Linked DNA regions of Homo sapiens: all the other regions are linked to region 1. The links are contacts of gene promoters, found by promoter capture Hi-C in blood cells and fetal thymus (Javierre and others, 2016). All regions are on one chromosome and are shown on one strand. The core of a region is centred on a gene start or on the middle of the fragment in contact, and the rest is flanking DNA. Distances in the headings are between cores, read along the strand shown.

Region 1 (4,356 bases), core at 1,450-3,949:
CTTGGGGTGGCTGAGTGAGGTCTCACCTCAGTCGATGGCCGATGGAGGCTGCTCCCGTGCAGTGAGCTGGTGCTGTCCATGTTGATTTGATCGACATCCTTCAGGCCCTTCCAATCCACTGCAATCACCTCATTCCCTGAGGGGGCCAGAAGGTTAGCCGCCGGCCCTCACCTCCCTGTGCAGCCGAGGCGACACCCTGGGGCCAGCCCTTCACACCCCTTCCTTACCCCAGCTGCCCATTTCCTCTTATATCCCTGCACTCTCCAAATTCTAGGGGAGACAAGTAGTAATGCTGAGCCCAAATATTCAGTTTTAGCTCAACCCAGAATAGTGCACTCAGAAAAAGTGATGTATGGCCTTATTTGTTGTTGTTTATGTGGAGGGGTCAGAGGTTGGGTTTTATCAGAAAACCAATTATTCCGTCCTGAGGACTCTTGGAGGGTTTCTGTATGGGAGCTGGGCTTTTTCTCTATTACAAGTCTACAGATAAGGGCAGAGCTGCTCTATGAGGAACTTTTCTCTATGCTTAGGGTGGAAGGGATGTGTCTCCCCCGGTGGGCCCTTCCTAAGAGTCCATGAGTCTGACTGACTGGAAGAGGACTTCCTGGGAATCGAGGCAGGAGTTGGATAGCAAGGAGTTGGGTGTGTCCTCCCAAAAACAGTGAGCAGAGAAACCAAGGGTGAGCTGGAGGCATTTCACCTGACTGTGGGGAGAGAAGTGATGGATTAAAGTGGAGGGAAGCTGGTGAGCAGGAGGAGAAAAGAGAACTTTTTAAAATAGGAATTAAGAAAATAGGAATTCAAGTCAGAGAGAAGACAGAAGATGGTGGGAGGGGTGGACAGGGTCTGAGGGCTGAGTGGGAAACTGCAGGACTCAGGGGAAGGAGGGTCCTTGTTACAGCCGGGCCAGAGCTCCTGGTGGAGGGAGACTCCTGGACTGAGGGCAGGATGGTGCCGCGGAGAGTCTTGCGGAAGAACTGCTTGGGTCTTCATAAAGGGACTATTCAAGCAGCAGATGGCTGCCTGAACCATCTGACCGTACAGGCCCTTTATACTCATGAGGTTTTACAATTGTGAGTTTAGGGGTCGGCTCCATTTTTGGGAAGGGGAGCATTGAATGGGGCTGGGCACGAGGAGGCATTCAGCACATCAGCAGGGCTGGGGGAAAGGAAGGGGCTTGTGGTGAACCGGACTGAGGAGGGAGGACCCTCCAAAGTTGGCCTGCTGTCCCCTGGGGCTCCGCGGGGTGGTGACTGGGGGAAAAGAGGAAAGATGGCCCTCCGGACACAGCAGGAATGGGGCAGGTGGAGAAGAGCCTGAGGAGAAGGGAGACAGGGGAGGGCGGGGTGCGGGGGGAGAGGGGAGCGGGAGGTGGCCTTTGTGAGAGACGGAGAGCTGAGTCAGAGCTGTGGGGGGCAGCGGGGAGGGAGAGAGCCGCGGAGAAGGGGTGAAAGCAGAGGAGGAGGGGGTATCCATGGAAATAAACCGGGTCTCAGGGAAATCAGGCTTCTGGAGAGTGAGTTTGTTTGTAATAATAATACGAATTATTCTCTCAGCCTGAGGTCACCGGGAGGTGTAGGCGGGAGAAATTGGGAGTTGGAAAGGGGAAGAATGGGGGAGGGGGTGGGAGAGGGCCGGATGAATTCGCTGAGCGGCGAGAGTGGAGTGGGTGCCTGGGTGGGGGTCAGGGGCGGTAGCCAGGCAGAAGCTGGAGGGAGAAGATGGATTAGGAGGCGCCTCTCTTCCCTCCCCGCGTCAAAGGTAAATAAAGAGCCGGCCCCGCCCCGCCGGCCCCCGCTGACAGGTGCAGGCGGGTCCCCGGCCGCCGAGGCAGGGCCGGCCCCACCCTCCCGGGCCGCGGGCTCCCGACCCCTCCCAGCGCCTCGAAGCCCCCATCTCCTCCCCGCGTCCCCCAGCCCCTTCCCTCCACCCGGCCCTGGCCCTGTCCCTCCGGGCGTGGAACCCGGGCTCATCCCGCCCCCGCCCCAGAGGGAAAACGCACGTGAACAAAGCGAATCGGAGGAGGCAGGAACGACAGTAAAAGGCAACGGAGAGGGAGAGAGAGATGGGGCAAAGCACCCGAGCCAGATGGAGGCGGCGGCGGGGGGTGGCGTGGGGGGCGTGCGAAAGAAACTCGGGGCTGGCGCGGAGGCCGAGGGTCCTTCGCGGGGGGCTGCTCCGGAGTGGGGGATGCGAGGAGGCGCTGGGGACGGCGGAGCAGAGGCGGATGGCCTGGAGGGGCAGGGATGAGGGGACCGAGCGTCGGGCCGAGAGGCAGAGGAGAGGAGGGCGATGGAGAGGATGGAGAGGACCGCGCCTGCGGGAGGGCGACGGGGAGAAGGAAGCGAGCCGAGCGGGATGGCAGCCCCGGAGGCGCAAGACGAGAGCGGGCAGGAAGGAGGGACAGAGGGACCGCGGGCGGACGGAAGGAAAGTGAAGGAGCTAGCAGGGCAAGGCGGGTGCGGAGCGGGGCGCCCGGAGGCGCGAGGAGAGGGATGGGGGAGGGGGTCGGAGGGCGGCCCGGGGGGCCCAGCCCTGCCCCCGCCCGGCCGCGGTACCCACCCACAGTCCGGGAGCCGATGCAGCCCATGGCTCCGGGGGCCGCAGAGCCGGGCCCTCACCGACTCGGGGCGCGCGCCGGGGGGAGCACCGGGAGCCGCGCCGCCGCCCCAGCCGCTCTGCAGCGCCGCGGCTGTCTCCGCTCGGCTCCGCTCCCCCCTCCCCTCTCCATCCCTCCCCACGGCAGCTCCGTCGCCGCCGCCGCCGCCGCCGCCGCCGCCGCCTGGCTCCCCCGCCCCGGCTCGGCTCGCCGCGGCCGGGGAGGGGGCGGCCCGGGGATTGGCTGCGCCCCGCGCCTCCCCGCCCCTGCTCCGGCCGTGCCGGGGCGCTCCCTCGGGGATCTGGGGCCGCCGTCGCCGCCCCCCTCCTCCCGCCCGTGCCAAGCCCCGCTCCCGGGGCTCTCTCCTGGAGAACCCCGGCTTGGGTTTCAGGAGCCGAGGCACGAACCCAGGGCCTACCCCGAGGTTCTGGTTGATGGATTTTGCGGGCCGGGGTCAGGGGATGCCCTGAGAGAAAGTGGGGTGGTGGTGAGAATAAAGCCAGGCCCAAGGGCCTTTGGCCACCAAATTCCGCAAACACTTGTTTTCCTCCTGGGGCCGCATCTGGGACACACACAGGAACGTGATTGGACACAGCTTTGGGCTCTGTTGTTTCGAGTGCGCTATTTTGTCCATCCAAACAGAAGGTGAAGTCTTTGCAAGTGAATCGTGTAGTCCACTTCTCTGTGCTCGCTGGACATTCAGGGGTGGGTGTGGGGATGTGCAGATAGTTGACCTCCAGGCCTGGTTGGGGATTGGAGAATATGAGGAGGACAGTTCATTCGCAGTAGACTAACAACAATGTCAGGACCCGAGGCTGGCTAGGAGACATCGTCTTGAATCCAGTTTAACTTTTCTGAGACGTGATCTTCTCGGACAAATGAAAGCAAGGCGGTCCCGAAGCAGCAAAGAGAGAGAAAGATTGGCCTCTGGCTAGTGGGACTGGGCCAGGTAGATACCTCAAGCCCCATGGGGAGGAGATGAAGGTCTAAGTTGCAAGGGTTAAATGAGCACTGTGGTTACAGCAGGTAAGAAGTGGAGTCCAGAAAAGATGCATGAGAAAGGGCAAGGAGACCCTTTTGTCTAAGGTGTACCCAGAAAGCCCAAAGTGTGAGAGAGTGGGCAGGTGGGCATTCACAGAAGCAAGTGCCCATCCAGGCTCTGACTGCACCTCGCCCACTTTTAGGTCTCTCCGAGGTTGCAGAGAGAGAAGGCAATGGGCCAGGGGTCCCTGGTGTGGGCTCCTAACAGGGAGGCTAAGTCTTATGGATGCAACTTTCTAACCTTTAGATTATGAATGGAGAGCTACATCCCATGGGGTGGCAGATGAAGATGTGCAAGAAGAAGACACTAACAACTGAATTGCAGATTGAGGAGATGAGATTATGGTGACAGAATCCATCTTCGGTGTATGTGCATGAAGAAATAAGCCAAATCTACATCTATAAAACCGCGGGAAGGAATGAGATAATAATCAGTTGCAGGTCTGCTTAGATTTTAATCGTTTAGTGTAGTTCGTGGCAGGGTCTGATACCCTATTTCAATAGTGGAGAGAATTAGAAAGCATTTTCTTTTTTCATATCTACTATTATTGGTTATATAAAAGAAGTATCAAATAGTTTCTGCTTTCATGGAATATACTGTCCAGTCGCAAAGGAAAGAAGATGGAGAGATGATTAAAAAAAAAAAAAAGAACAAACAGCTTCCATTATTCTAGCAATGCCCACACACCCCTATTGTTTGAGCAGAGAAAACGCTG
Region 2 (4,192 bases), core at 192-2,691, 73 kb after region 1:
AAAATTCTCTATTATGCCGGATTGCTATTACAGCCAATGTTTATTCTAAATTACTTACTTAAATATAAGAGTCAGAGGAAGTCTTCAGGGTGAGAAAAAATATTTAGGGCTTATCTTGCAGGGAAATCATTATTAAATTTGTGCATAGTTTAGCTTAACATTTATGTGCAGTCTAGCCATTAAAAACATTGTTATTTCCTTTTTCCTCCACCTTTCCCTGGAGTGGGCCATCAGTTACCCGATAAAGCCATGGAAATACGTGGAAGTATTTATGCAATGCACGTCACTCAAAGGTTCAGTTGGGAATGGGCACCAAGATTGAGAAACCTGTCAAATGAAATGTATTTTTGTATGTCTCTAAGATGAACCAAGAATTCATTCTCTAAGAATTCAAGAATGTATTCTTGAATGTGATAAGAAAAAGAAAATAAAAACAAAAAACAAACGAATCAACAGAAACCAAAAAGCACTTTACTGGTGTAGAGGACTAACGTGAGGGAAGTGCCAGTAGCTCTTTGCAGAATCTTCCATTTTAATCCAGTCTTCTGCTGTTACCTGTTTACCATTACTACCATTTCACAGAAGACTCAGACTTCATCCTAAAAAACTATCTCCAGTCATGCTGCAGAAAATAATTCGTTAGCTTCAGCTGCAGGAATGAGACACCTTTAAAAAAGAGAAATGTGACCCAAACTTTTGTGAGAAACACCTTGTATTTTGATTGCTATTTCACATTCGAAGGACTCTTGAAAAACAGAAAAAACCTAAAACATCATCTTGCTTATGGTATCTTTTGGTGGCAGACTATGAATGGGACATGGGACCCCCATAAGATATATCTAGTGAAGCACTGAGAGATGGATAAACAGGTGCCTGCGGGAAAGGTACTCTTTCAGCCTTCTTATAGAAGAGTATTGAAACAGGAGAAAATGTTTACTTTCTAGAGCTATCAACTGTAGAAAGGAAAAGTCCTGGGGAAGACTTGTTCTGGCAAAGTGCACGCTTTGGCACCTCTGCAGAGAACATGAAGTTTGCCCGCAAACATTAGATGTCTACTTGGTTACACGTGACCGCAACAGGGCGTGTGTACCATGGCCTCAGCTCGCTTCTTGATGACATCATGAATCTGGGCTCCGGCCAAAGGATTTTGAGACGAGCCAAAATGCTGTGGAGCATGCAGAAGCCACTCATTGCTGTTGTCTTCAAGAAGCCAGAGGAAGACATGCAAAGAATTAAAGAAAGACGCTGAAGCTGTGTTACAAAACAGTTGATCAGGTTGAATTATCCGCTCTCTAACAATCTTTTGAGAGTTCAATAAAAACTAGCAGCTCTTCAATTAGCCGGGCGTGGTGGCGGGCGCCTGTAGTCCCAGCTACTCCGGAGGCTGAGGCAGGAGAATGGCGTGAACCCGGGAGGTGGAGCTTGCAGTGAGCCAAGATCAAACCACTGCACTCCAGCCTGGGCGACAGAGCGAGACTCCGTCTCAAAACAAACAAACAAACAAACAAACAAGCAGCTCTTCAAGCAATTGCTATATTCGAGAGCTGAACCTCTTTTTCTTGAAGTCGCCACCACAAGTGTTTGTCCTTGTTTTTATTTCTCTTTAATCTTTCACACACAGGCCTCTCTCACCTGTAGAATCTTGAGTGAGACCATGGGAAGTAGGCAAGGCTATTTTCTGTGACTCATCTTGGTGGAGAGCCCTGACTCCAAGATCTGAGACATTTGCCAGGGGATTCCCTTCCCTGTTTTTCTATCCACACCTCTGCTTTCTTCTACCCTCCTTCTCTCTCTTCCCTCTTAACCCTTTTGTTTTTACTTTTTCCACATTCATAGGCATTCTTTCCTCAGTTGAACCTGTCCTCATGGCTCCCTGAGCCTGGGTTGGCTGATCTGAACCAGTGTCATTTTGTGTGGTTGGCGGTAAAGGCCAAATGTAAGATGTGTGAAATCACTTTAAAAATGACAAGGTGGGGCCCTATGCAGTGGCTCACACCTGTAATCCAAGCACTTTGGGAGGCCAAGGCGGGCAGATCACAAGGTCAAGAGATCAAGATCATCCTGGCCAACATGATGAAACCCCTTCTCTACTAAAAATCCAAAAATTAGCGGGGCATGGTGGCACATGCCTGTAGTCCCAGCTACTTGGGAGGCTGAGGCAGGAGAGTTGCTTGAACCCGGGAGGCAGAGGTTGCAGTGAGCCGAGATCACATCACCGCACTCCAGCCTGGCGACAGAGTGAGACTGTCAAAAAAAAAAAAAAAAAAAAAGACAAGGTGTTTCAGCAGGGTGGTTTTTACTATTATATATTCAGTATTGTTATAGGACAGGGCTCACTCCACATAAAGCAAAACTTCCCTGTGGCCCAGCTTTGCCCTGAGCTCCTCTTGTCATTCCACCAACTCTTGCTTCCCCCAGCTCCTATGGTGATGTCCCCTCTGGGTCAGTTTCCCTTCTCTGTCTTTCTCGTCTTCTCATTATGATTTATCTACTCTCTCTCATTTCCTCAGAGGCTTCTTAGGAACTGATTACTTTTGGTTGATCAAGCACTCTGGAGCCAAGGGGATAACAGTTAACAGATGATGGTAACATATCAGAGAAATCCACATTTTAACTGGAGATTCCATGAACTCCAATATGGAGCTTGACAGTGAAATTTTAGGCAGCATGAGAGGCCAGTGGTTAGGGGGCCTTTTCTTGGTAATGTGAAGCCTTGTGCATGCGAATGATTTTTCTGTTCCACCCATTCGGGAAGTGAGCTAAGGCAGTGTATAGAGGCTACTGAATAAAATATTAAGGCAGGACGTGAAGGGAAGGTTTTTGGTTTGGGGAGGGCAATAAGAGTAACAATGTCTTTTAAAGAAGAGTTAGGAAAGAAATAGTACAGTTAAGACATCATGTACAAAATGTGGGTATTTTCAGTCACCCCAGCAGCCTCTATTCTGTTAATGTTTCTCTGCATCTGGCTCTGAGAAAGGACAGGCAAATACAGGTTATGCAAATAGAGATGGTGTCATTGAGCTGGGAGTGATTTGCATGCCAAAGGAGATTGCAGAAATTATCTTTTCAAATTCTGGGGACTGGGGGTGTTTGCTGGTGGCTGGGATTTTCTATGAATCCAGGGACAAGGGCTTCTGAGTCTCTGGTGTCAACAAGGTGGCTTGACTCAGCCAGAGAGGCTGTTTTTCCCTGAAGATGTGTCCCAGCCCTCTGCAGTAGGAGCTGAGACTTAGCAGAACCTCCCTGGAGAAGATGCCCTCCTTGCCCACGTTGATCTTCATAGCCATCTTTTGCCTGGAGTCATTGGCTGCAATGCTGCAGAATGGATTCTTGGTCACAATGCTGGGCAGGGAGTGGGTAAGGTGCCGGATGCTGTCCACAAGTGACATGATTGTGGCCTGTCTCGCTGCCTCCCGTTTCTGCCTGCATGGGGTAGCCATGGTGAACAACCTCCTGGCCTCCTTAGATTTTTCGCGTGCAGTTCCCTATATGAACATCTTCTGGGACCTTTTCAATGCCCTCACTTTGTGGTTTACTGCCTTGCTTGCTGCTTTCTACTGTGTGAAGATCTCATCTTTCTCCCACCCCACCTTCGCCTGGCTGAAGTGGAGGAACTCTCGGTTAGTGCCCAAGCTGATCAAGGGCTCCCTGATCATCTGTGGCCTGGAAGTCATCTCATCAGCCACTGGGAACATCCTGTTTGGTCAGAGGAAGGTCTCCCTGAGTTCCTACAGAAACGAAACTCTAGTTTATAGAGTGCAGGCTTCATTTCAGCTCTACTTTTTCCTTTATGAAGGGTTTGTGTGGTCGATTCTGTTCCTCCTGTTCCTAGTGTCCACTGTCTTGCTCATAGTCTCACTGTGCTGGCAGTTGGGGTAGATGAGGGACCTCAGGCCCGGCCCCTGTGATCCCAGCACCCAGGCTTACACTATGGCTTTAAAGTCACTCACCTTTTCCCTCATCTTCTGTACATTGTACTTCCTGTCCTTGTTTGCTTCTGCTTTGAAAATCATAAACTTTCAGAATCACTGGCACTGGGCCTGGTAAGTGCTAATCTATGCCAACATCTGTCTGCACTCTACCGTCCTGGTGCTGAGGAGCCCCAAACTGAAAAAGGGCCTGAAGACATGGCCTCAGCTCCAGTGCCCACGTGCTGCTGGCTCACAGGGCTTTGGAAGGTGCTGGCCATAGG
Region 3 (4,457 bases), core at 784-3,283, 93 kb after region 1:
GGGTCAAACTACACTCCAAATCTCCCCATGGGATCAAAGTGACTGTATATTGATCTAGAAACTACTTAAAAAATTTAGTTTCTTCTCTTCTTCTATCCTGTGTATCTTATTTTCCTATAGTTTTTTTTTTTTTTTCCTGAAAGGAACAACTCAAAATGTAACTTGCACAAGAATCTCCATCTCAGACTCTGCTTTTGAAAAGTGTGATCTCAGACATAAAGATGAGAACAATAGACACTAGGGACTTCAAAAGGAGGGAAGGAGTGGGGGCAAGGGCTGAAAAACTTCCTGTTGGGTACTATGTTCACTCTCTGGGTGACAGGATCAACAGGAGCCCAAACCTCAGCATCATACATTATACCCTCATAACAAACCTGCACATTTACTCCCTGAATCTAAAATAAAAATTGAAATTAAAATAAGAGACACATACAGAGCTTTACATAGTCTCACTTGAACCCCTGCTGGAGGCTAACAGGCGTGCAAAGCAAAAGACCACTCACACACACAAAAATTAAAATTAAAAATTAAATTAAAAAATAAATAAAAAGTGTAATCTAAGTGGTCTGATTTTCAGGCTATATCTCTGTGATTCACCCTTGTAGATCCCTTCTTTACATGTGTACATACATGTCTGATTTAAAACTTATATCTAAAACTGAACTCCTGATATTCTCTGACCTCCCACTCCAACATGCTTCTCTCACTATTTTTTCTGTTTCTGCCACTCCGTTCTTCTAGTTTCTCTGGGCAAAACCTTTTGCATTCCATGAAGAATCATTCAGCAACCCTGATGCTAGACCATTTAACCTAGAGCTAAAGCATTGGTAGATGACCTGCTTCTGGGTTGTGGTTTCATATGGAGAAAGCTGTCCTTTCACTCCAGTCTTTTGAAAGCCAGACCTTGACACAAGGGTTTGAAAAAGTCAGGGTTAGAGTTGAGGTTGTTAACTCAACCTTCAAAATGAATCTGTAACTCTACTGCTTATCACCACCTCCATTGCTACTGCTCTGGTGCAAGCCACTATAACTCTAGCTTGGATTATTGCAATGGCTTCCTAACTGGTTTTGCAGCTTCTGCTCTTGTTTGCCTTTGGTCTATTTCCAATACAACAAGCCAGCAGGATCCCTGAAAAATATAAATCATATCATGTCACATCTCTTTCATAATTCTGGATTTGCTTTTCATCCTAGAGTAAAAGCTTAAGTCTTCATAATGAACTAAAATGCCCTCTATAATCCATGTGCCCTATCTCATGTTTCTGAAGTCATCTGTTGCTGTTTTACCCTCCTCTCACACTGAGCTCATCCCTTTGGCTTTCTCGATGTTCCTTGAATTTGTCCAAAGTCTTTGCATTCTCTGTGCTTGGAATGCTATTCCCAGATATTAGCATGGCTCACTCCCTCACTTATTTCAGGAATTGTCATTGCTACTCTATCTAAATTGCAATACCCTGTACTACTATTCCCTGTCCTGTTTTTTTCTCCTTAGTATTACCACTATCTCTTTTACTTATTTATATTTTTTATGGTTTATTTCCCCCACTCTAATGTAAGCTTCTCGAAGACAGGGATTTGTGTCTGTTTTGTTTTTACTGGCAAATTGTAGGCACTCAATAAATATTTGCTGAACACATGCATACATTATTTTATTATAATTAACTAGACTACTATTATTATGCAACAGGTCATCATTTCTATGCTTGTAGAAATGGGCGTGGCTGCTAGAAGCTGGATCATCAATTGATATTCTCTTACACATTCAGAAACTGGTGATTTTGCTGGTTCACTGATACAACACTGAGCCTCCACATTTTTCACAGTTGTTGTTAGAGACGAGTAATTGCTTCCATGTTCATATACATCTTAACAAGCATTTATTGATCACTTTGATATGGAGGTCTAGGTGTACATCCCTGCTAAGTGCAATGGGGTTATAAAAGTAGGATCTTAACATTCAAGAAATTTACCATGCAACATATATACACCAGTTAAAGGAGTACGAAGCAGTGAAGAGCTGAAGTGACCACTAATGAAGTATAATATAATAGTTCATATTTGACCCTAGTACTGAGAGAATTATAAAATGGAAACTAATCGGATACAGTCCATTATTTAGTATTACTTATTTGTAATATTTTGCTGCAAATTTTGTACTTTTCAAATACTTGATATTGGGGTTTCTGTTTATCTTTGATAGTAATCTATTAGGTTCGACATTTCTTAAAGTCATGCATGGCCTCCTTTTCTGAACTCTTGTATACTTAGGCCCATATCGCTGGCCACTCTATTGTGATTCACTCAAGTGAATGGGGGTAATCTTGAGATTAAAAAAGTCACAAGAACAAGACCTCAGATAGGAGGAGGGTTGTGAGGGAAACTGGATCTTTGAAGTGAAATCAGAATTGTGAGGCAGAGAGGGAGCTTCTGCTCATGGGGTTGGCCTCTGTCACAGGCTTGTAATGATTCTGAGTTTCAATGGTGTGGATGGCTGGCCTTGGTGACAGATAAAAGCTTTCGAAACTGGGCTTCAGCAGTAGGCAGCTGAATGCATTTGGAACTTTAGTTAGCTGAGCTGACTGATGCATCTTTTAACTATAAATAATACTTGTTCTGGACTATAGTGATGGAAATCGAAGGCTAGTTGGGGGTAGGGGACTGTGTGTGGGGACAGTTCTTTTTGAAAACTTTTATTTTTCTTTCAGTAAGCCAAACAATTTTTAAAAAGAGGTTGAATAAACTATTTAAAATACACTATTTACATGATACTTTCATTATCTATTTTGCTCAAGGTGATTTTTTTAAAATATGAAACTGCTCCTATGTACTCAGATTGTTATACCTTTTACATCAAAACTAAATTGCAATAGTTTGTTTGTTTGGTTTTGAGATAAGTTCTCACTCTGTTCCCCAGGCTGAGCATAGTGGTGCAATCGTGGCTTACTGCAGCTTCAAACTCCTGGGCTCAAAGGATCCTCCCACCTCAGCCTCCTTGAATAGCTGAGACTATAAGCGCATACCACCATGCCCTACTAATTATTTTTCATTTTTTGTAGAGATGTAGTTTTGCCCTGTTGCGCAGGCTGTCTCAAACTCCTGGTCTGAAGTGATGCGCCTGCCTCAATCTCTCAAAGTACTGAGATTATAGGCATGAACCACCGTGCCCAACCAAGTGCAATGTTTTTGAGGACAAGATAGATTTCTGCCTCCAGTGGCAGTATAATTTTCATAAAATAAGGGATTAGGACTTTACTTTTAAAAGTTGGTGGCTTCCAAATCTGCTGACAAACTCCTTGAGGGGCTATGATTTGGGTCCACACCAAAAGCAGCATCTGTTTAATTCTGTAGGGATCAAGTACAAGAAGACTGTTGTCTTTATTGTTGGAAAGTTTCAAATGGAGAAGAAAAGTAGCTGATCCAAATTGGTCCACATTGGACCAGCTACTTTAGAGTTGGGAAGCATTTAAATTTTAACTCCTCTGTACTATAATTGAGGAATCTGTAAGAAAGTTGGGGGAAAAGCTGTATTTCTCAAGTTAAAGCCAATGGCTTATATTTATCCGAGTCAATAACATTACATTTTCCATTATCTGTGTTTGGGAATTTTTATTACAGGTATTCTTATGGTGAAGTTTTACTGATCCATTATTTTTTAATTTTAGTTTTGAAAAATGTCACCACCAACCTGTGGTGATGGGACCAGATATATTCAGGGGTTCCAACAAGTAAGAGTGAAAATGTCTTTGTATGTACAACATACTCTGCAGACATTCCAGTAGCCCACGGCTTTAGGTGAGGAGGATCATGAAGATGAAAATGTATACATGTTTCTTCTCAACATTTCCAAGCTAAATGCAAGCTTTACTGCTTCTATCATAGCATCTATTTAAAGTTTTGCCAACTCAGTCTCCTTGAATAACCAAATATTGAAAGCATCTGTACCAAAATATGTAGTGACACATCAAGATTATTTTAAAAAGGAAAAGCAACTAACCTCATTCATTCAACAAATATTTCCTTTGTGCCACTATGTGGGGGATGCAGGGGTTGAAGAAGATCCTTGTCCATTGAGAGAACAACGTGTGTCTCCCTATAAAACAAAGAGAAGTGTCTGAAATTAAAGCATGTATTTAAGTGATTAAGACCTTATACTGTGTTCAGCAAACATTCTTTGAGCAAATCCTTTTGAGAATCAGAAGATGAATGATCATGAACACTTTGTGAGGAAGAATCAATGAGTCACAGGTGCTGATGAATGAAAGAATCATAAACTTTAGAAATTCTTAAACATTTTTACTAGAGCAGTGAAAGAGAGAAATATTGCATAGTCTTGGCTATAAAGAATGTATAGTCCTTCAGATACAATGAGCAGCTCAGTAGTTGCTTGTGGAACATTTTACAACTACAGAATGACCCAGAGGCAGAGCCACGTGCCTTGCTGCAGTTGCAGGTACATG

The links. The method cuts DNA at HindIII sites, captures the fragments that hold promoters and counts their contacts. A CHiCAGO score of 5 or more calls a contact.
Region 2: a fragment that was not itself captured here is called in contact with the fragment with the promoter of FAM131B in region 1 in 1 of 17 cell types (neutrophils); the score reaches 5.1 in neutrophils.
Region 3: a fragment that was not itself captured here is called in contact with the fragment with the promoter of FAM131B in region 1 in 1 of 17 cell types (M0 macrophages); the score reaches 5.1 in M0 macrophages.

What each region holds. Positions count from the first base shown.
Region 1 is chr7:143,360,014-143,364,369 of GRCh38, forward strand. FAM131B (family with sequence similarity 131 member B) reads right to left here and starts at 2,700. Exons shown (of 7, transcript NM_001031690.3): 1 at 2,563-2,700; 2 at 27-136. The coding sequence starts at 2,590. It overlaps FAM131B-AS1 (FAM131B antisense RNA 1), which reads left to right and starts at 1,693. Exons shown (of 3, transcript NR_183342.1): 1 at 1,693-2,044; 2 at 3,177-3,244; 3 at 3,888-4,252. The HindIII fragment of the contact is 5,612 bases long and covers 1-4,356 here.
Region 2 is chr7:143,433,783-143,437,974 of GRCh38, forward strand. All of the region lies in intron 2 of EPHA1-AS1 (EPHA1 antisense RNA 1), which reads left to right. It also overlaps the pseudogene TAS2R62P. Among named protein-coding and RNA genes, the nearest start is that of TAS2R60, 7.6 kb to the right of the region's middle. The HindIII fragment of the contact is 6,221 bases long and covers 1-4,192 here.
Region 3 is chr7:143,453,214-143,457,670 of GRCh38, forward strand. The region is part of intron 2 of EPHA1-AS1 (EPHA1 antisense RNA 1); the gene reads left to right. Among named protein-coding and RNA genes, the nearest start is that of TAS2R60, 12 kb to the left of the region's middle. The HindIII fragment of the contact is 957 bases long and covers 1,556-2,512 here.